7 separate regions of the Homo sapiens genome follow, and regions 1, 2, 3, 4, 5 and 6 are each linked to region 7. The links are contacts of gene promoters, found by promoter capture Hi-C in blood cells and fetal thymus (Javierre and others, 2016). All regions are on one chromosome and are shown on one strand. Each heading gives the region's core, a stretch centred on a gene start or on the middle of the fragment in contact. The rest is flanking DNA. Distances are from core to core; before and after follow the strand shown. Region 1 has its middle 11 kb from the start of ZNF439. Region 2 has its middle 45 kb from the start of ZNF44. Region 3 has its middle 3.3 kb from the start of ZNF440. Region 4 overlaps ZNF44 (zinc finger protein 44). Region 5 has its middle 9.4 kb from the start of ZNF69. Region 6 overlaps ZNF439 (zinc finger protein 439). Region 7 holds the start of ZNF433 (zinc finger protein 433).

Region 1 (3,338 bases), core at 726-3,225, 200 kb before region 7:
AGTGTTGGAATGGCCAATGACAATGACAATGAAAATGCAGGCTGAGGGTGATGAACAGGACACACTGGAGAGCCTGACATCGGCCTAGACTATGGGGGTGTCTTGATGCTTCACAAAGAGCCCAAGGAGCACCCCAAAGAGGACACTGGAGCACAGGCCCAAAGGGTGTTCACATGCCAGGAAGGCCACTAATTTTGAAAGTCAGGGACATTGGTGCCTGCTTGAGTCCTGATGCTTTATCTATAACATATGCTTTTCTGCATCTGGTTAGACAAGGAAATCTGAAATTTTTGTTTCAGCATTTAGAAATAAGTTATTTAAGCAATCCTCACACTCATGGTTTATTCTGGAACTACCTTCAGACACACAGCTACAGATAGGGTATATAATGAGTATTTCCAAGGCTACACTCTGTAGGAAAAAACTTCATGAAGTCAGTGGGACCCTCTCATGGGAGGGTTTTAAGACCCACAATCAAAAAGGTGGGGAAACATTAGAGTGGAAGGAGGGCAGCAGAAGGTCAAGGACTTTCCCGGAGGCCTAACATACCCAACATTATTACCCTAGATGAAAACCAAATACATATCCTAACACCACATACTCTCTTCAATGTTTAACAGACAAAATGAAATGTATTCAAAGCTAAGCTTCCAGAATTCCACTTTACGCTATTAATGATGTTTTAATATCCCTCAATGTGTTGATATTAGGACATTTTTAAATATGAATACCATTTTCTGGTTATATATGGAAAATATCTTGATTTCTGAGATACAAAAATGCTCATTTTTAGATATACATGGTCTTGCACTTTTTTTATAAAATAAGGTGAAAAGACAGGAAAAATTTTTTCAGATCATGGAACTTGGATTAATAGGAGAAGAGTCATACAAATTTATTTAACATGTATATATGGGAGCCTTCAGAATGAAGACCCACCCAACAATAAGACAAAAAAGCTTATATTACCATTCTGAGGCCAAGAAAGAATGCAGACTTGGCTGGCCAAAAAATCCCGGGTTTGGTGGGTAAGTCAGGTTTAATGGCAAGACAGATTAGGGAAGAGGAAAGGAAGAAGCTTACCTCCTGTGTAGCTAAGGAGACCTTGTTATGTAGATGAAGGCTCCCTCATAGAGAATAGGTGGGAAATGCTGCTTTTCAGACTTTTATTTAGACTTTTAAGTAATAGGGACAGGATTATGCTATGTTGCCCAGGCTGTTATCTAATTCTTTTTCTCAAGCAATCCTCCCAGCTCAGTCTCCGAAAGTGCTAGGATTACAAGCATGAGCCGCCATACCCAGACAGGGTTTGTTCCCTTGTAAAGAATTATTTGTTGCTGGACACAGTGGCTCACAGAGGCCAAGGAAGGAGGATCACTTGAGCCCAGGAGCTCAAGACCTGCCATGGCAACATGACAAAACCTCTTCTCTACAAAAAATACAAAAAATTAGCTGGATATGGTGGCACGTACCTGTACTCCCAGCTATCCAGGAGGCTGAGGCAGAAGGATAACCTGAGCCTGGGAGATTGATGCTGCAGTGAACTGTGATTGCAGCACTGCACTCCGGCCTGGGCCACAGAGTGAGAGCCCTTCTAAAAAAAAAAAAAATATATATATATATATATATATATTTGTTCACTTATTGCAGCTTCAGATTTTTAAAATTAATTGTAAATTGCATTTTCACTACAGCTGGAAAAATAAGAAAATTTTGCACAGAGCCAAGATAAAAATAGATGTCAGAAATAAATCATTAGTCTTATATAGCATTTGTTTCAAAAAAAAAATTTTTTTTTTTTGAGACAAAGTCTCGCTCTCTCACCCAGGCTGGAATGCATTGGTGTGATCTCGGGGCATTGCAACCTCTGCCTCCTGGGTTCAAGTGATTCTCCTGCCTCAGCCTCCTGAGTAGCTGGGATCACAGGCACGTGCCACCACACCTGGCTAATTTTTGTATTTTTAGTAGAGATGGGGTTTCACGATATTGGCCAAGCTGGTCTCGAACTCCTGGCCTTGTTATCCACAAGCCTTGGCCTCCCAAAGTGCTGGGATTACAGGCGTGAGCCACCGCACCCAGTCTCAAAATTCTTAATTTTTTTCTTCTTCAGATGTGGTGTAGTACATTTCTTAAGTCTGTCCTTTTTTGTGGATGATTTCTTTATTTCTTTTTCTTTCTTTCTTTCCTTTTTTTTTTTTTAAGATAGGGTCTGGCTTTGTTGCCCAGACTGGGATGAGGTAGCACAATCTCAGCTCACTGCAATCTCCATCTTCCAGGCACAAGCTATCCTCCCACCTCAGCCTCCGTAGTAGCTGAGACCACAGGCACACACCACTACACCCAAAGTGCTGGTATTACAAGTTTGAGCCACAGTGCATGGCCATTTTTGGATGATTTGTAACAGAGTTTCAGGGCATAGCGTTGAGAATGCTGATTGGGAAAAGAAATAGAGAAAATCTTTTATTACAGCTTGAGAAAATGAATAATCTTCCACAATAAAGTATAGTAGATAAATTGGTGAATTACAAAGATTCAGCAAAATACCAGTCCTCCTTTGCAGGTTGGGGAACTTGTAATGGTGGATAACTCTTCTTCTTCCTGTTATCTGTGGGGTAAGACCTGGCTGGCAACTGTTGTCATATGTTTGTGTTCACATATGATTAATGTGTAGTATGTGCTTTGTTATCATGGAAATAATAATGAAATAATATTGTGCACCTTAATAAGATAATAAGATTCAGAGAATATGATTAAATGCTGAGTTTATCTGAGCACATAGTTTGAGGATAGCCACTGGGGAAACAGATATCCTGAAGAGTGGGGTCAGTGCTCCAACACGGGGAATTTGAGTCTTCTCTTCTATAGGGCAAAATGAAGCTTAACAGGGTGACATTTTCCATACAAGGCCGGTGCACACATTTCAGTGATTTGATAGGTTGCAGCTACCAAATTTCAAGGATGATTGCTTTAACTTTTTTTTTTGGATGGAGTCTTGTTCGGTCGCCCAGGCTGGAGTGCAATGGCGCAATCTCAGCTCACTGCAACCTCCACCTCCCGGGTTCAAGCAATTCTCCTGCCTCAGACTCCTGAGTAGCTGGGATTACAGGCACGTGCCACCATGCCCGGCTAATTTTAGTATTTTTAGTAAAGACGGAGTTCACCATGTTGGTCAGGCTGGTCTCAAACTCCTGACCTCATGATCCGCCTGCCTCGGCCTCCCAAAGTGCTGGGATTACAGGTGTGAGCCACTGCAGCCGGCCTGCTTTAACTTTTTGTAAGGAGGGGTAGTGGTCTCAAAAGGATCCTACCTCTGGCACTTCTCTGTCTTTTCTAATCAT
Region 2 (3,059 bases), core at 339-2,838, 210 kb after region 7:
AGGTTTTTCCACATTGTTTACATTCATAGCGTTTCTGTACAGTGTGATTCCTTTCATGTGCTCGAGCAGAATGGCGGTAAATGAAGGGTTTCCCACATTCCTTACATTTGTAGGGTTTCTCTCCAGTATGAGCCTTTTCATGTTTTTGAGCAGATTGGTGGTATCGGAATGCTTTTCCACATTCTTTACACTTAAAGGGTTTATCTCCAGTGTGAGTCCTTCCATGTATTTGGAAAGAACGTTGACAACTGAAGGCTTTCCCACAGGCCTTACATTTGTAGACTATCCCTGCACTGTGTGTTCTTTTATGTTTTTTAAAAGACTGCAGATAACTGAAGGGTTTCCCACATTTCTTACATTTATATGGCTTCTCTCCATATTCCTGACACTTATACAGTTTGTGTCTGGTGTAAGATCTAATGTGCCTGTTAAGGGATGAATGATGGCTCAAGACTTTTCCACATACACTGCTTTCCCAAAGCTTTCCTCCAGAAGGAGTTTTCTTGTTCAGACTGAGATTTGCAATCTGGCTGAAACCTTCTCCGCCATGACTACCTTCTTTACTTTCACAGAGTCTCTCTACCATATGATTTCTGTAAAAAATGAGTAGCACATTAATAGTTCATTTTTTAAAGATTTTCTCTTTATTAACTGATACTAGAATAACTATTTTTTCCACTTTCAGGGAAAGTACAGATTTTTTTGTCCTGTCTAAATTGCTTGTGAGGTGAATGTACTGAATGCTATGGCCCTGCAAGAGGGCTCAAACATAACTGTTATGAAAACAGTGATTTTCATATATGGGTTTCTCTTTTTTTTTTTTTTTGAGACGGAGTCTCACTCTGTCACCCAGGCTACACTCTGTCGCCCAGGCTGGAGTGCAGTGGTGCGATCTTGGCTCACTGCAACCTCTGCCACCCGGGTTCAACTGATTCTCCTGCCTCAGCCTCCTGAGTAGCAGGGATTACAGGCACCTGCCATTGCGCCCGGCTACTTTTTCACTATGTTGCCGAGGCTGGTCTTGAACTCCTGACCTCACAATCCACCCACCTCGGCTTCCCAAAGTGCTGGGATTATAGGCGGGAGCCACCGCGCCTGGACCATGAACATCTATGCCATATTTAAGAAAGCACTTTGGGGCCAGGCGTGGTGGCTCACACCTGTAATCCCAGCACTTTGGGAGGCCGAGGCGGGCGGATCACAAGGTCAGGAGATCGAGACCATCCTGGCTAAACACAGTGAAACCCCGTCTCTACTAAAAATACAAAAAATTAGCCGGGCGTGGTGGTGGGCGCCTGTAGTCCCAGCTACTCGGGAGGCTGAGGCAGGAGAATGGTGTGAACCCAAGAGGCAGAGCTTGCAGTGAGCCGAGATCACGCCACTGCACTCCAGCTTGGGCGACAGAGCAAGACTCCGTCTCAGAAAAAAAAAAAAAAAAAAGAAAAGAAAGCACTTTGGGTTATTTTTATTTATTTATTTTTCCCGAGATGGAGCTTCACTCTTGTTGCCCAGGCTACAGTGCAATGGCACAATCTCGGCTTACTGCAGCCTCCGCCTCCCGGGTTAAAGCGATTCTCCTGCCTCAGCCTCCGAAGTAGCTGGGATTACAGGCATGTGCCACCATGCCCGGCTAATTTTGTATTTTTAGTAGAGATGGGGTTTCTCCATGTTGGTCAGGCTGGTCTTGAACTCCCGACCTCAGGTGATCCGGCTGCCTCAGCTTCCCAAAGTGCTGGGATTACAGGCATGAGCCACTGCGCTAGCTGGGTTAATATTTTCTAAGAACAGATACATTTGAGGCTCAGCTTGTTTTGTTTCTTTAATTATCAAATTTAATGACATACTAAGATTTTTCTCCTAGAATACTGCTTTCTTTTCTGAGTGTGACTCACCTGAGATTTCTCCCCTGGTTTTTGTACTGCTCTTCAATGTTCCATTCTTTTTGTTTTGTTCCTGAAATGCAGACCCAGAAAAAATTATCATAAATTATTAGAAATTACAGAAAAATTATTAGATTCTAGGTCCATATGTGACCATGCCTGATTTACAAAAGAATTTTGCCTTTTCACATTCCACATCTTGGAATAGCATTGATATCCAAGAAAAAGGTATTCTCTAATTCATTCAACAACATGATGGAATGATTTCATTTTTACCTATAGTGGCCAGGTTCCTGAAGGTTTCCCACATCACGTCTCTGTAGAGTTTTTTCTGTGAAGGATCCAGCAAAGTCCATTCCTCCTGGGTGAAGTTCACAGCCACATCTTCAAAGGTCACTGAGTCCTAAAACATTCCAAATGTGTGTAAAGGAGAATGGGTGAGACTGACAGCACTGGACATCTATACTCGAGTCATAAGATGTTCACGATGATTCTGTGATCTCCAGAGATTTATTCTATGAATTTGTTGTCAGAACTCTAACTCTTTGGCCACACTCCCTCAGTAGTTTATGAACACACGAAAATTATTTCTACACTTTCACTGTGATCACAATCATATTGCTTTCCAATGGCAGGATCCAGAGCACTCTGGAAAAGTGAGAGAAATGCTGTACAAAAAAATTCCATTTTAAGACCATCAATTCTTTGTGAGAAAAACTCATCTTCTTCTTATACATCACATCACTCAACATTCCATGAGACACAGGGTCAAACATGGATAATACGTGGATGAATAAAAGCACACTGAAGAACTAGAAGCTTTTTCTACTATTCCCATCACTAAGCATGAGAACAAGAGGCACGTGGAAATCAAACTTGTAACAATATTTACCTGACCATATTGTCCTGAGGTACTCTAGGATATTCGAGGTAGTCAGATCCAGCCAATTCAATCAAAATATTTCTTTTGGAGAAGTTGGCTGGGCACAATGGCTCACACGTGTAATCCTAGCACTTTGGGAGGCCGAGGCGGGCAGATTATCTGAGCTCAAGAGTTCGAGACCAGCCTGGGCAACATGGTGAAACCCTGTCTTGGTGGCTCACACCTGTAATCCCAGCACTTTGGGAGACCGAGGAGGGTGGATCACCTGAGGTCGGGGGTTCCAGACCAGCCTGGCT
Region 3 (3,180 bases), core at 512-3,011, 220 kb before region 7:
TTTGAAATATGTTTTCTTCTATCCCATCTAGGGACGTGGTTACAGAATGCCCTCGTTTTTGTCCTGCTCCATCATGGTCACTGAGGAGCACTGCTTCACACTGCAGGTGTCTGACATGGCTTAAGATTTGGCCTTGTGGTGAGGGGAGGCAGCTCCCAGACTTGTGGACCTGTTTTTGCTTTACTTATTCTCCAAAACCTAAGATATTTCTTAGAGTGTATGAACACTGTTCCACAAAATGCTCCAGTTAAAAATATATAAAATCACTTACTCCTTAGGAAGCTGTATAATACTTTTAAAGAAATTCCTTACTGAGTCAAGTGTGGTCAATATATTTATGTAACTGTCTGAATGCACGCCTAGGAAGGATGAAAGTCAGTATCACTATTCCAACCAAGCCTTTCTTGCTCAGATAATATGCTCTTGATGCACCCCTCTTTTTTCTTTTTGACACAGGGTCTCATTCTATCACCCAGGCTATGTGGAGTGCAGTGGCGTGATCTCGGCTCACTGCAATCTCCACCTCCTGGGCTCAAGCGATCCTCCCACCTTAGCCTCCCAAGTAGCTGGGACCATGCCCAGCTAATTTTTGTATTTTTTTTTTTAGAGACAAGGTTTCACCATGTTGCCCAGGCTGATCTCGAACAGGAGTTCAGCAACCCTTTTATGCCACACTGTAGAGTAATAGGCAACATGGAAAAGTTAGTTTTATATATTATGCAGTGGCATGGACCAATCCAATCACTTTTTTGAAGTGCCAGCCAAACTCTTCTTCAGAGAAGCCTGTTTGAAACCCCCTAGAGTCAAAACCTGGTACCACAGGACAGAGCAGCAATGAGTGACCAACCCCTGACTCTATGTGCAGATGACACATCCATCCCCAGATTAGGTATCAACATAAGTGAAAGGTACTGTCATTGCCTGTCATTTTTTTTTTTTTTGAGATGGAGTCTCACTTTGTCACCCAGGCTGGAGTGCAGTGGCACGATCTTGGCTCACTGCAACCTCTGCCTCCTGGGTTCAAGCTATTGTCCTGCCTCAGCCTCCCAAGTAGCTGGGATTACAGGTGCCCGCCACCACACCCGGCTAATTTTTGTATTTTTAGTAGAGACGGCGTTTCACCATGTTGGCCAGGCTAGTCTTGAACTCCTGACCTTGTGATCCACCTGCCTCGGCCTCCCAAAGTGCTGGGATTACAGGCGTGAGCTACTGCACCCAGCCCATTGCCTATCAGTTTTTATAGAGTGTCGCTTAGATCAAGAAAGAGATGGTAATACAGAGTTAGGTGTGTCTGAAACCAAACACGACCTCATCCTTCTCCCTTGAAGGCCAAATGCACTCTGAGAGTTTGGTTAGAGTACAAACAACGCCACCAACTTCACTCCAGATGTGATTTTCTACAGGAGGCGGGCACTGTGTTGGGATGGCCAGTGAAGGTAAGGAACACTAGAGGTGCAGGTTTAGGTGATGAACAGGACACAGCCTGGACATTATTAGCCTTGACTATGGAGGTGTCTTGATGTTTCTCAAATTGAGACCAGTCTGGCCAACAGGATACTGAACTGGTTTTCGATGGAAAAATTCATCTGTATAGGGATCTATTCGCTTCCTTTAAGTTTCAGTTTCGTTATGTGGCATTTAGCATGAGTGACTCCATTTTGGTCTGATCTGGTTTCTAAGTGCCTAGTGCAGAAGCTCAGTCCAAAACAATGGCCTCCCATAATGTTCATTTTAACATTTTCTTTATACTAATACATTATATCAGGTCACCTCAAATGTCACCTCCACAGAGGGTTCTTCCTCTCACCTCAGTTAGTCCTACTTCTTTCCATTCAGTTTTTTGTTACACTGCACTTTTTAGGATCTGGGAAATCTAATCAAAGTTCACAGGGTTTATTGCTTATTCTTTTTCTTTTTCTTTTTCTTTTTTTGAGACAGAGTCTCTCTTTGTCGCTGCCCAGGCTGGAGTGCAATGGTGTGATCTCGGCTCATTGCAACCTCCACCTTCCAGGTTCAAGCGATTCTCCTGCTTCAGCCTCCTTAGTAGCTGGGATTACAGGCATGCACCACCACACTCAGCTAATTTTTGTATTTTTAGTAGAGATGGGGTTTCACCATGTTGGCTAGGCTGGTCTCGAACTCCCAACCTCAGGTGATCCACTCACCTCAGCCTCCCAAAGTGCTGGGATTACAGGCATGACCACTATGCCCAGCCAGGTTCATTACTTTTTAAAAATCAATCTATGAAAAATTAAATTGGCCAGGCATGGTGCCTCAGAACCTGTAATCCCAGCACTTTAGGAAGCTAAAGTGGGAGGGTCACTTGAGGCCAGGAGTTGGAGAGCAGTCTGGGCAACACAGTGAAACCCCATCTGTACAAAAAATACAAAAATTCGCTGGGCTTGGTGGCGCACACCTGTGGTCCCAGGCTCTACTTGGGAGGCTGAGGTGGGAGAATTGCTTGAGTCCGGAAGATCAAGGCTGCAGTGAGCTCTGTTTGCACCACTGTACTCCAGCCTGGGTGACAGAGGGAGACCTTGTAAAAAAAAAAAAAGAAAGAAAGAAAGAAAGAAAGAAAGAAAGAGAGAGAGAGAGAGGGAGAGAGAGAAAGAAAGAAAGAAAGAAAGAAAGAAAGAAAGAAAGAAAGAAAGAAAGAAAGAAAGAAAGAAAGAAAGAAGAAAAGAAAAGAAAAATCATGTAAATGAAACCAAATTCAGTGATGTTACCTTAACTTTTTTTCTTTTTTCGGGTAGAGACAGGGTCCCACTATGTTGCCCAGGCTGGTCTCAAACTCCTGGCCTCAAGCGATCCTCCTACCTTGGCCTTCCAAAATGCTGGTATTACTGGTGTGAGCCACCACACCTGTCCTACCTTTATTTCTAATAACTGATATGCCTTACATTAAAAAGTCTTTTAGAAAACACCTTTGAGCCATTTTCCAGATAGGGGAAGTCAATGAAGCTCCCTCTTGTGGTGAGGGCGACTTTAACATCCACACATCCTGTCTGGGGGACTGGATTTCTGAGTTGTGCTGAGACTTAAGAGTGGAAAAAAAGTCTACTCTTTTTCCTCTGCTCTCACACAACACGGAATACTTCTGTGACCAAATGCAAATATTTGAGAAGTGTCCCCCACATGCCAAGCAAAGCATCAATTCTGCAACTGACTCCAGCTCGATGT
Region 4 (2,991 bases), core at 203-2,702, 240 kb after region 7:
TAGGCACCATACAGCAATCATCATTGTCATAACCATCGTAATACTTGGGTTATCAAGAGAGAAGAACCAGAATTGTGGTTGGTGTTAACACATTCTTTCAGGTCATTAGACAAAAGTAATCTGAGTATTGAAACAAGAAACTGTAACATTATAGGTGATATATACGATGTAGATAGGCCTGCAATGGTTGGGTCTGTACTGAACACATATAGATTTTTTTTCTTATGATTCCCTAAACAATACAACTATGTACACAGCTTTTACAATGCATGAGATATTTTAATTAATCTAGACATTTATAGAGTATACAGGAGAATGTGGGTAGGTACATGCGAATATTCCATTTTATAAAAGAGCTGGCATCTGTGGATTTAGGTATACTCAGGGTGTACTGGAACCAATCTTCTTGCATATAGCAGGCAGCAACTCTATTTGAAAGAAATGGAAACTTTTTTTTTTTTTTTTGAGATGGAGTCTCGCTCTAGCACCCAAGCTGGAGTGCAGTAGTGCAATCTCGGCTCACTGCAACCTCCACCTCCCGGGTTCAAGGGATTCTCCTGCCTCAGCCTCCTGAGTAGCTAGGACTACAGGTGTGAGCAACTATGCCTGGCTATTTTTTTTTTTTTCCGTATTTTTAGTAGAGACAGGGTTTCCCATGTTAGCCAGGCTGGTCTCGATCTCCTGGCCTCGTGATCTGCCCTCCTCGGCCTCTCAAAGTGCTGGGATTACAGGTGTGAGCCGCTGCGCCCAGCCTGGAAACTTCTTAAGGCTTTACCACGTTTACATTCACAGGATTTATTTCTTTCAAGTATCTGAATGTGATAAAACCAATGAATGCTTTCCCACATTCCATACACTTATAGAATATCCTTCCAGTGTGTCCTTTTATGTCTATTAAAGGAACTGAGAGAACTGAAGGCTTTCCCACATTCCTTACATTCATAGGGCTTCTCTCCAGTGTGAGTTCTTTCATGTTCTCGACAGAAACTGGAACGACTGAAGGCTTTACCACAGTGTTTACATTCATAGGGTCTTTCTCCAGTGTGAGTCCTTTCATGTCTTAGAAGGAAAGAGGGCCAAAAGAATGCTTTCCTGCATTGCTTACATTCATATGGCTTCTCTGCCGTGTGAGTCCTTTCATGAGTTTTTAAGTAACTGAAACGACTGAAGGCTTTGCCACAAATTTGACACTCATAAGATTTTTCTTCACTGTGAGTCCTTTCATGGCGACAAAAGTATTTAAAAGAACTAAATGCTTTCCCACACTCCTTACATTCATAAGGCTCCTCTTCACTGTGTGTTGTTTCATGACTTTGAAAGGAAAATAAATCACTAAAAGCTTTTCCACATTTACATTTATAGGGTTGCTCTCCAGTGTGTGTTGTTTCATGTTTTCGAAGGGAACTGGAAGTACGGAAGGCTTTCCCACATTGCTTGCATTCATAGGGTTTCTCTCCAGTGTGAGTCCTTTCATGTCTTTGAAATACACTAGGAGAATCAAAGGCTTTCCCACATACTGTGCATTTATGAGGGCCATCTCCAGTGTGTGCCATCATGTGTCTTCGAAAGCTTGAGCGATGAGATAACAATTTCCCACATTGCTTACATTCATAGGGTTTCTCTAGAGTGTGAGTTCCTTCATGAATTCGTGCTGAACCAGGAAAATCAAAGCCTTTCCCACATATCTTACATTTATGAGGTCCATCTCCACTGTGCATTATCATGTGTCTTTGAAAGCTTCCAAGATGACAAAACGCTTTCCCACACTGTTTACATGTATAGGGTTTCTCTCCAGTGTGAATTCTTTCATGTACTCGAAGGGAACCGGAAACACTGAAGGCTTTCCCACATTGTTTACATTTGTAGGGTTTCTCTCCAGTGTGAGTTCTTTCATGTCTTAGATATGAACTGTAATCAGGGAAGGCTTTAGAACACTGCTTACATTCATACGGTTTCTCCCCAGTGTGTATTTTTTCATGTCTTAGATAGGAACTGTAAACAGGGAAGGCTTTAGAACACTGCTTACATTCATATGGTTTCTCTCCAGTGTGAGTTCTTTCATGCATACGTAATAAACTGGGCCAAAAAAAGGCTTTCCCACACAATTCACATTTATAAGGTCCATCTCCACCTTTTACTACCATATGTCTTCGAAGGTTTCCAGGAGAACTGAAGGTTTTTCCACATTCCTTACAATCATAGGGTTTCTTTCCAGTGTGAGGCCTTTCACATGTTTGAAAGGAGTGGCGATAACTTAAGCCTTTCCCACACTGCTTATGTGTATATGACTTCTCTGCATATTCATGACACTCCCGGTGTTTGTGTCCAGTATCAACTCTGATGTAGCAATTCAGGGATGAATGACCCATTATGACTTCTCCATTCACACTGCTTCCACATGCATCTACTCTGGCGGGAGTGTTCTTGTTTACAATACTATTTCGAATCTGGCTTAAGGTTTCTCCACACTGACTACCATCTTTACTTTTACCAAATCTCTCTACCACATCACACCTGTAAAAAATGAAAAGTACATTACTAAAGGTTTATTATTGAATTTATATTTATCAACAGGTATTAGATTTACATTTTTAACATTATCAGGCAAGCTATAAGCTTCATGTCCTGCTTCAATGTGAATGGACTGAATGTTGTGCAAGATAACTCAATCCCAGCTATTTTCAAGACAATGATATGCACATGGGGATTCTTAATTCTTTTTTTTTTTTTTTTTTTTTTTTGAGATGGAGTCTCCCTCTGTCATCAGGCTGGAGTGCAGCTGGTGCTGTCTCGGCTTGCTGCAACCTCCGCCTCCCAGGTTCAAGTGATTCTCCTGCCTCAGCCTCCCAAGTAGCTGGGACTACAGGCATGCACCACCACACCCAGCTAATTTTTGTGTATTTTTAGTAGAGATGGGGTTTCACCATGTTGGCCAGGTTGGTCTCGATCTCCTGACCTCGTGGATCCACCCACCTCGGCCTCCCAAAGTGC
Region 5 (3,266 bases), core at 566-3,065, 160 kb before region 7:
GGTGCGGTGGCTCACGCCTGTAATCTCAGTACTTTTGGATGCTGAGGCAGGAGGATCCCTTGTGCCCAGGAGTTTAAAACCAGCCTGGGTCACATAGGGAGACCCTGTCTCAAAAACAAAATTTATAGTTACAAGTCCTAAACCCCAACAGGGTCATATTTGGACACGGACCTTTTAGGAGATCACATACATTTATAAAGGAGGGCTCTCACAATGGGATTAGTAAGAGAGAGAGAGAACTCTGCCTCTCCAGCATGTAAGGACAAAGCAAGAAGGCATCTAGCTGCAAGCCAGGAAGATAGCCTTCACTAGGAACAAAATTGTTGGCAGCAAGATTTCAGACTTCCCAAGCTTCAGAACTGTGAAAAACAAATTTCTGCTGTTTAAGAAACTGAGTCCATGGTACTTTGTTATACTAGCCTGAGCTAAGTCACCCCAAGAGTCCTCACATTAACCATATACTGTCGTACAAGTGCTGCATTTGGATCTACCTGTAATGTCTCCAAATCTACTTTTCCTTTTGGACCCATTGTGAGAACAGGTTTGCCTCATAGACAACTGCTGGTGATATTAGTGATAGCCTACCAACTAGGGACTAAAAAGAAAGTTTTTCTTTTTTTTTTTTCTTGCTTTTTTTTTTGAGATGGAGTTTTTGCTCTGTTACCCAGGCTGGAGTGCAATTATGCAATCTCGGCTCACTGCCAGTTCTGACTCCCAGGTTCAAGTGATTCTCCTGCCTCAGCCTCCCAAGTAGCTGGGTTTACAGGTGCGTGCCACCACATCCAGATAATTTTTGTACTGTTAGTTAGAGATGGGGTTTCAACATGTTGGCCAGGTGGTTCTCGAACTCTTGACCTCAGGTGATCCACCTGCCTTGGCCTCCCAAAGCACTAGGATTACATGCATAAACCACCACACTCGGCCTCTCATTCATATGTGTGTGTATATTCTGTTTTTAATAAAAATAGAGACTAGGCCTATGTTGCCCCGTGTGGTCATAGCCCAAACTTTTGGGCTCAAGCGATTTACTCACCTCAGCCACCCAAAATGCTGGGATTAAGGCATGAGAAACTGTGCCAGGGCAAATGAAAGAAACTTAGTGGGAGGCCAGGCACGGTGGCTCACACCTGTAATCCCAGCACTTTGTGGGGCTGAGGCGGGTGGATCACCTGAGCTCAGGAGTTCAAGACCAGCCTGGACAACATGGTGAAACCACATCTCTACTAAAAATACAAAAAAATTAGCTGGGCATGGTACTCCCATTCTCACAGTCATGCAAAGGCTCTTTCTTAAGGATTCCACCTGCTGGAAAGCATTATATACTGCCTGCACTGACTCAAGAGTGTCTGGTTTCATCTCCATGTCATAATTACAACCACAATCCTAAAGGGACTGATTTACCACACTGTGGTTGCCGTAAGTCCCAAATTGTACCCTCAGCAGCAACTATATCATCCCAAGTCACAGCTCTACCCTCTAAAGGTGTGCCTGAGGCTTGTGCCTGCCATACTAACACATTAACCTGTCCAAAGCTTCCTTCAGAGCTGTGTCCCAGTCCCAAAGTGCCCCTTTCTAAAACATTGGGCTAAGTGTCAGATAAATGCTCTCCAATAATCCAAAGACCAACAAATGTCTGGATTTTTTTTCTTAAGAGAAATAGTATGGCTCTGTTTCCCAGGCTGGAGTGCAGTGGTGGGATCATAGCTCACTGTAGAAACTCGGGCTCAAGGGATCCTCCTGCCTCAGCCTCACAAGTAGCTGGGAGTAAAGGCACATGCCACTATGCCCGGCTGTTTTTAAATTTTTTGTACAGATGGAGTCTCACTCTATTGCCCAGGCTGTTCTTGAACTCCAAGGCTCAAGTGATCCTCCCACCTCAGCCTCCCAAAGTGCTGAGATTACAGTTATGAACCAATGCACCCAGAACTCAAAAAGGAATATTTATAAGGGAAAATATCTAATGTTCAAATTGTTATGTATAGAGCAGTTAACGGGAACTATCATTTAGGGTCTATGGGATTCTAGGACACTAGGTATGAAACAAATATGAGGAAGGTCAGAGAACAAGCTGACTTGATGATTAATGCTGAAGGTGCCGCAAGCTTGGTTTAAGTTTTCCTCCTCCCATCCTCCCTGATGAATTTGATAAAGTTTAAAGGGATGGTTTCACCGGGGGCTTTTTCCACTGACTGCAAGGAGGTGATCCCGCTTGGTAAATCTTCAGTAGGCCAAGCCTCTTACGTGGCTAGAATGATCCAGTCCATAAGGAAATGTCACCACCTGCTGTATTTTACACTTTGACCATCAAAGGGGTACAGGGTTTCCCCAGGGAGTTTGGTGGGATTTTAATTTTTTGTTTGTTTGTTTTGAGACAGTGTCTTGCTGAAGCGCAGTACCCAATTATAGCTCACAGCAGCCTCAAACTTTGGGGTTCAAGTGACTCTCCTGTCTCAGCCTCCTGAGTAGCTGAGACTGTAGGTACACACACTTCTCCTTGGTAATTAAAAATTTTTTATGGAGATGGGAGGGTCTCACTTCACGGCTCAGGGTGGTCTCCAATCTCGGGCTTCAAGCGATCCTCCCACTTTGGCCTCCCAAAATGTTGGGATTACAGGCGTGAGCCATGGCACCCGGCCTCCCAGGCTGTTGTTTGAAGGTCTTTGCAATCTCTAAGAGTTCTGCAGCAATTTATTCCCTGACAGTGAGAGTCTCATCCTTTGACCCCATTTTGCCGCAGTAGCTGAACGTTCACTTTTCTTTCCATAAGGGGGCGAGCTTGCCAGTGACCCTAATCCCTCTCCTCATCGATGACTTCTTTGTCATCAGAGCCTTCCTCTTCATAAATTCCCACGGAATCCAAGTTTTCACGTCCCAATCGGGCTTAGTTATGATAGCCACAGGCCCACACCAGCTGCCACAGCACCCCTGTCCCATGGAAACCGCCTGACTCTCTTCTCCCCAAGCGTCCTGTCCCAGGAGCCCCCATCATCTCTGCTCCCCCGGGCTCCAGGCCCTAGAGCCGCGCTGCTGCAGAGCCCGGTTCCCAGGGCTGCTCCCTCCATATATCCACATTCATCTCCAGCTCTCCACCCTCTCTCCAACCAGCCAGGCCCGGAGGTACTGCAGTGTCACTGAACGTGCGTCCCTCAGCTGCCACCTCCACCACGATCTGGAAATCTTTTAAATGCACTTAAGTTATCTTAGAATTTTCCTTCCCCACTTTATACATAAACATAGGAGGAGAGCAGGGACTCTGCTGGTGTCTT
Region 6 (3,122 bases), core at 132-2,631, 180 kb before region 7:
CTGACCACCTGGAATAGGCTCGTGATGAGTAATCACAGGGAAGATAAAATAATAGACATTATAAAATTGTAAAACTTTGTCCGATGGAGAGTGGTTGTCTATTATTTCCACAAAATCTGCAAGAGCAATTTGCTACACAGTCGATATTTCCCATGCTGTGGCCTGTTGTTGGGAATCCAAGGAAACAATAATTGCGTCTGGATCATACCCCATAAGCACTTTTAATTTATGCCTACCTATAGTCACAAGTTGTGTAATTAAAGGAAGATAGGCTTGCAAGGTTTTAACTGTTTGATTAGGTAGAAAGAGCCATTCTATTACTGATACAGACTTGTCTAAGCACTGGCCCAGGAGTCCTGTTGGAGAATGAGGGGTATGAAGAATAAGCAAAGGCTTTTGCGGCTACAGCCATGAGGCATGTCTCTGCTGAAGCATCTGTTCTACAAGTTGCAACTCAGCTTCTGCCTCTTTGGTCAATTGCTGCGGGGAAATCTAATGAAGAATCTCCTTGCAGGGTTTGATAAAGATGTTTGAGTCGATAAGTTGCAATACCTAGCATTGCGCACAGCCAATGAATATCCCCTAACAACTGTTGAAAATCATTTAAAATCTGTAACCTGTCTTTATGGAGAACTACTTTCTGAGGCCGAACACTTCTTTCAGTAACAATAGTGCCTAAGTAATGGTATGGGGAAGTTGCTTGTACTTTCTCTGGACCAATTTTGAGATTCCATTTAGTCAAAGCCTGCTTCCTTTCTCTGAATAACTGATGTAAGATTTGATCTGTAGGAGTGGCCAAAAGAATGTCATCCATGAAATGAATGATGTGAGCAGTAGGAAACATATTCAGAGTCTCCTTCAATGTTTGTCCTACAAAATGCTGACAGCGTAGGACTGTAAAGCATGTCTTGGGGTAAAACTTTCCTTTGATAAAGAGAAACAGGTTCTCTTGGATGAATAGAAGGCACAGAGAAGGCAGATCCAGGCTTATCCTTCTCGTGTAAGGGTATAGTAAAGAAAGGTCTATGCCGGGCGCAATGGCTCACGCCTGTAATCCCAGCACTTTGGGAGGCCGAGGTGGGTGGATCATGAGGTCAGGAGATCAAGACCATCCTGCCTAACATGGTGAAACCCCGTCTTTACTAAAAATACAAAAAAAAAAAAAATTAGCCAGGCATGGTGGCAGGCACCTGTAGTCCCAGCTACTTGGGAGGCTGAAACAGGAGAATGGCGTGAACCCGGAAGGCGGAGCTTGCAGTGAGCCGAGATCGCACCACTGCACTCCAGCCTGGGCGACAGAGCGAGACTCCATCTCGGAAAAAAAAAAAAAAAAGGGGGTCTATTGCTACAAGAGGCCAGTCTCTAGGAATGACGGCTGCAGATGGCAAGCCTTGTTGTAATGCACCCATCAGTTTAATTTGTGCATTAATAGCTCTCAAATCATGCAGCAGTCGCCATCTTCCTGACTTCTTTGGAATTACAAACACTGGTGAATTCCAGTGGCTAACCGACTCCTCTTTATGGCCTGCATCCAGTTGCTCTTTTTCTACTGCTGAAGTTGAGTTAGTTTCTCCTGTGATAGGGGCCATTGATCCACCCACACAGGTTTGTCACTGAGCCATTCTAATGGTAAGGCAGTAGGTGAAGGAGAAGTATCAATGACCCCCATCAGAAATCCTGACTCCTAGCCCTTTTCTATCTGTTTGCCCACTTATTGATATAGGATCAGGGTTTCCCTGTAGGGACTTTTCTAAGCCTTTTCTGCTCTGATATCCCATTTTAGGGTTTGACCCTTGGCTCTTTTTAGATTTGTCAACTACTAAATTAGCCATTGCTTGACCTAACATTGTAGAATGATAAAGCTCAGTTCCTACATCCTGAGAAGCTCTGAGAAAATTTCCCAACTCTTCTGTATACTTCACAGGTGCTAGTGCACATTTACAATCTACGTTTGCATTCTCAAAAGCTAAAGTTACGGTTTGCATCTCTGCAGCCATGGTATGAGGAATCTGTTTCTTCACTGCCTCTTGTAATCTTTCAAGAAAATGTGCACAGGGCTCCTGCAACCCTTGCGTGATATGTAAAAAGGATTGTACTGGAACCCCTTCCTCTGGAATTGTGGCCCAGGCACATTTAGCAGCCAGTGCACACTGCTTATAAGCAGCGTCTGGGAGTGCCATTTGATGTTCCAGGTCTGAATAAGGGCCATTACCCAACAGCATATCCTCTGTAATGTCTCTATGTCCAGTAGCATGATTCTGTCTAGCCTGGTCTGCACACATTTCTTCCCAATTTAAATTCCGTGTTAGGTATGCGCTAGCAGACAAACAAATCTGAGCCAAATGCTTTACATCAAAGGGTATAAGGCGCATAGCACCAAAAAGAGATTCTGGTAATCCTAAAGTAAATGGGCTCTGTACTCCATTATTAACTACACTAGCTTTTAATTCCTTCAACAACTTAAACTCTAGTGGGGGTGTGTTCATGAATAAACTGCTGTGGATTATTTGAATCGGGCCTTATGGAAATAGGAAAAACGCAAGGTCCTAAGGGCTCTCCAGCTATGGCAGCAGAGCATAAAGTTGTTTGTTTTGGGGTCTCTATTTCTGCTACCGAAGGAGGCAGTACAGATGTTTCTGCTATTGGAGGGGGCGGTATAGGCCAATTTTTATCCTCCTTCTCCTGTTTATTATTTTCAGTTGGTACTGTGGGTGGGACAAAAGATTCTTTCAGATTTTTAGACTCAGAATATGATTCCAGCTGTCTAGCAGAATAAGAAGGAGATAACGGCAGAAGGACAGTATGGACTAAACTCCAAGTGGAGAAAACAGAAGGATCAACTTTTAGACCTTTTTGATGAGCCCATTTTAATCCTTCACCTGCTGTGTCCCAATTTTCCACATCGAAAGTGCCTGTCTGCAGAAACCATGGGTTATGCATAATAACCTCCTGCAGCATCTTAGTGTCTGAGAACTAACCTGAGCACCAGACTGTTTAAGTAAAACTTTAAGCAACTGCACATAATGTTGCTCCTCAATCCCAGCACTTTGGGAGGCCGAGGCGGGTGGATCATGAGGTCAGGAGATCAAGACCATCCTGCCTAACATGGTGAAACCCCGTCT
Region 7 (3,257 bases), core at 97-2,596:
GTAATGTGACTCTGGAATTGAGTCACCTGACACTGGAAAGAGCCAGCTGGAACCCTCCCACACTTGACTACAGATTAACCATCAGACAGGCTTCACTATACCTGGACAGGCCTCATTATACCCGCTTCCTTTAGGAGTTTCCACATAGCCACTGACCCACCTTCATGTTAAAACAGACATCAGCCAACTGGAAACACAGACTCTCTGTGACAATAAGAAACCAAATTACAAACAAGACCTAAGGCCATGCAAGGCAAGAGGTAAGTCAAATCTTAGAATTCACAAAATCTAAAGAAACAGGTCTTTTGTTTTGGGTGGGATGAAATCATATGACAGATACCAGACCCTCTTCACTTAAGCAATCCTTCCTACCGCCTCGAAGTTTTAGACAAAGCTTCACACTCTCCACCAACGGCCACCTTCAGAATCCCTCAACCACCTGCACCTTCTAACCCCCCTTCCACAGGTCCCGCCCTTTCTGCCAAAGGAACTTACACCTTTCCAGGCATTGATGCATGATTCTCCCTGCAATTCCTGTCTCCCTGAAATGAATAAAAACAGTCTTGAGCCGCCTCGGGACCACTTACTTCAGGCCTCCTGGGGTTGTGTTTTCCTCAGCTGAGGCCTCTCCTATTCGGCTCTGAATAAACTTCTTTAAGTTATTTTACACAGCTTGGCATTTTCCGTTAACAAATTACAAGCCAGGACTGGGTGTTTATCATTCAGGAATCTCAAAGGAACTCTAATTATTAATATATTTTTTAAAACCTATTCTGAGAAGCAAAACTATAATTGTTAACGTGTCTCAGTTTAATTTTTAAGAGGAGAAAGGCGCTACTGGGGACCCCACAGCCCACCCTCCTCCTACACAAACCCCCACACCCGAGGCGGGATCCCCCCATGACCCTCGCGTAGTCCCCGCACAATGTGGGGAGACGCGGGGCAGCGGGCGCGGAGCTGCCCAGAGAGGGCTCTGGGAACTGGGTGACAGTCACCGCGCAGGGACAGGACGAGACGCCCGGGTCCCGGCGGCCGGCCCAGCCCCACTGTGGGGCCAAGGGGACCAAGGGCCGAGCTGTCCCACGGGAAATCGGGTCCCAGACCCCGGAGTCGCCGCGGGGAGGCCCGGGTCCCACCACAGCCGGTTCCGGCCGGTTCCAACCAGCTCCTCCCCCGCCTCGGGACCCCTGGCCCGCACGCTCACCATTTCTTGCCTTTCAGGTGACTCCCACGACCAGTGCGGGTCACAGCACAGGCGACAGAAGCTATGGCAGAGGCACCTGAACCCTCTCGGAGGGGAAAGCCAGGCTCCCAACCTCAGCTCGCCGCCTGGAGCCGGGAACCGAGGAGAGCAGGGCCTTCGCCCTCCCCGATGGACACTCGGCAGGCCCCGCCCAGCGCCCCTGATTGGACGAAGCGCCGGGCCCCGCCCCCTCAGCCGTGAGTGACAATAGAAGCCCTTGGTAACGGGGCTCTGAAAACGGGTTTGACCGGATCCAGCGATAGATTCTTTAAGCCAGAGGTCTGTAACCTTTTTAGCACCAGAACCGGTTTCGTGGAAGACAGTTCTCCTACGGGGGCAGATAGTTTCGGAATGAAACTTCCACCTCAGATCAGGCATTTTATCCTCATAAGGCGAACCCAACCTAGATCCCTCGCATGTGCAGCTCACAATAGGGTTCGGGCTCCTATGACAGACTAATGCCTCTGCTGATCTGACAGGAAGCATATCTCTGGCGATAATGCCCGCTGGCTCGCCCGCCAGCCGCTCACCTCCTGCTGTGCGGACTGGTTCCTTACAGGCCATGGACCGGGGGTTGGGGACCCCTGCCATAGAGTACTGTTGAATAGAAACTTTAGCTCGTCCGGCGGTGGGCTGGGGGGGTGGGGGTAGCTCATGCCTGTAACCCCACCACTTTGGGAAGCCAAGGCAGGCAGATTGCTTGAGCCTAGGAACTTAAGCCCAGCCTGGGTAACATAGCAAAACCCCGCCTCTACAAAAAATACAAAAATTAGTCGGGCGTGGTGGTACATGTTTGCAGTCCCAGCTACTCGGAAGGCTGAAATGAGAGGATCGCCTGAGCCCAGAGAGGTCGAGGCCACAGTGAGCTGTGATTTTACCAGCCTGGATGTCAGAGTGAGACCCTGTCTCCGAAAAAAAAAAAAAAAAAAAAGACAGGGAATTGCAGTGGAGTTTAATATACATAGAGCCGGCTAAATGAAAGAGAAGAGTTTTATTTTTATTCAATTCTGTCTCCCTAAAAAATGGGAGGCTAGGTTTTGTTTTTTTGGTTTTTTTTTGAGACGGAATCTCTCTGTCGCCCATGCTGGAGTGCAGTGGCGCAATCTCGGCTCAGTGCAACCTCCGCCTCCCGGGTTCAAGCGATTCTCCTGCCTCAACCTCCTGAGTAGCTGGGATTACAGGCATGCGCCACCATGCCCGGCTAATTTTTGTATTTTTAGTAGAGACGGGGTTTACCATGTTGGTCAGGCTGGTCTCAAACTCCTGACCTCATGATCCACCCGCCTCGGCCTCCCAAAGTGCTGGGATTACAGGCCTGAGCCCCCGCACCCGGCCGAGGCTAGGGTTTTAAAGATAATTTGGTGAGCAGAAGGCTGGAAAATGGGGAATGCTGATTGGTCGCGAAAAGGATATCACAGGAAGTCTCAGCTGTCTTCTTGCACTGAGTCAGTTCTTGGCTAGGGGCCACTGGAGCAGGTGAGCCAGTTTATTGGTCTGTGTGATGCCAGCAAATTTATCAGAATGAAGGGTCTCAAAAATACCTCAAACACCAATCTTAGGTCTTACAACAATAATATTATCCACAGGAGCAAGTGAGAAGGTTGGGAATCTTGTGTACTCTGGCCGCATATTTCCTGAACCATAATTTCTAATCTTGTGGCTAATTTCTTAGTTTTACAAAGGCAATCTGGTTCCCAAGCAAGGAGACAATTTCTTTACGGAAGCGGCAGTTATGACTTTTGCTTTAAAGCTAAACTAAACTCCTTCCAATATTAGTAAGACCTATACCCGGGAATGAACAAGGGTAGCTTGGAGGCTAAAGAAAAGATGGAGTTCGCTTAGATCTGATCTCTTTCACTGTCATAATTTTCTCACTGTTATAATTCTTGCAAAAGGGTTTTCAGATGTAGAGTCATACTTTTAGCTCCTGGCAACATTTATGTTGGAACTCTTATACAGCAACTAAATCACTGGAACAGGATAATTGGTTGAGGATTTACTAACTGCTCCATCA

Evidence for each region. Contacts are between HindIII fragments. The CHiCAGO score rates a contact against its expected background, and 5 or more counts as called.
Region 1: a fragment that was not itself captured here is called in contact with the fragment with the promoter of ZNF433 in region 7 in 7 of 17 cell types (total CD4 T cells, erythroblasts, M2 macrophages and 4 more); the score reaches 6.6 in total CD4 T cells.
Region 2: a fragment that was not itself captured here is called in contact with the fragment with the promoter of ZNF433 in region 7 in 3 of 17 cell types (fetal thymus, total CD8 T cells and erythroblasts); the score reaches 7.9 in fetal thymus.
Region 3: a fragment that was not itself captured here is called in contact with the fragment with the promoter of ZNF433 in region 7 in 3 of 17 cell types (total CD4 T cells, megakaryocytes and naive CD8 T cells); the score reaches 6.8 in total CD4 T cells.
Region 4: a fragment that was not itself captured here is called in contact with the fragment with the promoter of ZNF433 in region 7 in 4 of 17 cell types (total CD8 T cells, erythroblasts, M1 macrophages and 1 more); the score reaches 5.9 in total CD8 T cells.
Region 5: a fragment that was not itself captured here is called in contact with the fragment with the promoter of ZNF433 in region 7 in 1 of 17 cell types (erythroblasts); the score reaches 6.1 in erythroblasts.
Region 6: a fragment that was not itself captured here is called in contact with the fragment with the promoter of ZNF433 in region 7 in 3 of 17 cell types (total CD4 T cells, erythroblasts and megakaryocytes); the score reaches 7.8 in total CD4 T cells.

The regions. Positions count from the first base shown.
Region 1 is chr19:11,836,471-11,839,808 of GRCh38, forward strand. It overlaps the pseudogene VN2R13P. Among named protein-coding and RNA genes, the nearest start is that of ZNF439, 11 kb to the right of the region's middle. The HindIII fragment of the contact is 1,799 bases long and covers 1,077-2,875 here.
Region 2 is chr19:12,248,086-12,251,144 of GRCh38, forward strand. It overlaps a transcript of ZNF44 not described here. Among named protein-coding and RNA genes, the nearest start is that of ZNF44, 45 kb to the right of the region's middle. The HindIII fragment of the contact is 2,218 bases long and covers 480-2,697 here.
Region 3 is chr19:11,809,346-11,812,525 of GRCh38, forward strand. No RefSeq gene overlaps it. Among named protein-coding and RNA genes, the nearest start is that of ZNF440, 3.3 kb to the right of the region's middle. RefSeq lists a silencer at 2,919-3,028. The HindIII fragment of the contact is 8,771 bases long and covers 1-3,180 here.
Region 4 is chr19:12,271,550-12,274,540 of GRCh38, forward strand. It overlaps ZNF44 (zinc finger protein 44), which reads right to left. Exons shown (of 4, transcript NM_016264.4): 4 at 259-2,514. The coding sequence ends at 858. Among named protein-coding and RNA genes, the nearest start is that of ZNF44, 22 kb to the right of the region's middle. The HindIII fragment of the contact is 230 bases long and covers 1,338-1,567 here.
Region 5 is chr19:11,876,711-11,879,976 of GRCh38, forward strand. No RefSeq gene overlaps it. Among named protein-coding and RNA genes, the nearest start is that of ZNF69, 9.4 kb to the right of the region's middle. The HindIII fragment of the contact is 570 bases long and covers 1,531-2,100 here.
Region 6 is chr19:11,857,151-11,860,272 of GRCh38, forward strand. All of the region lies in intron 1 of ZNF439 (zinc finger protein 439), which reads left to right. Among named protein-coding and RNA genes, the nearest start is that of ZNF439, 10 kb to the left of the region's middle. The HindIII fragment of the contact is 3,965 bases long and covers 1-3,122 here.
Region 7 is chr19:12,034,333-12,037,589 of GRCh38, forward strand. It overlaps ZNF433 (zinc finger protein 433), which reads right to left and starts at 1,347. Exons shown (of 4, transcript NM_001308348.2): 1 at 1,205-1,347. The coding sequence starts at 1,207. It overlaps ZNF433-AS1 (ZNF433 and ZNF878 antisense RNA 1), which reads left to right. Exons shown (of 3, transcript NR_134929.1): 2 at 1,222-1,440. RefSeq lists silencers at 882-1,001, 1,012-1,061, 1,302-1,461. The HindIII fragment of the contact is 7,472 bases long and covers 393-3,257 here.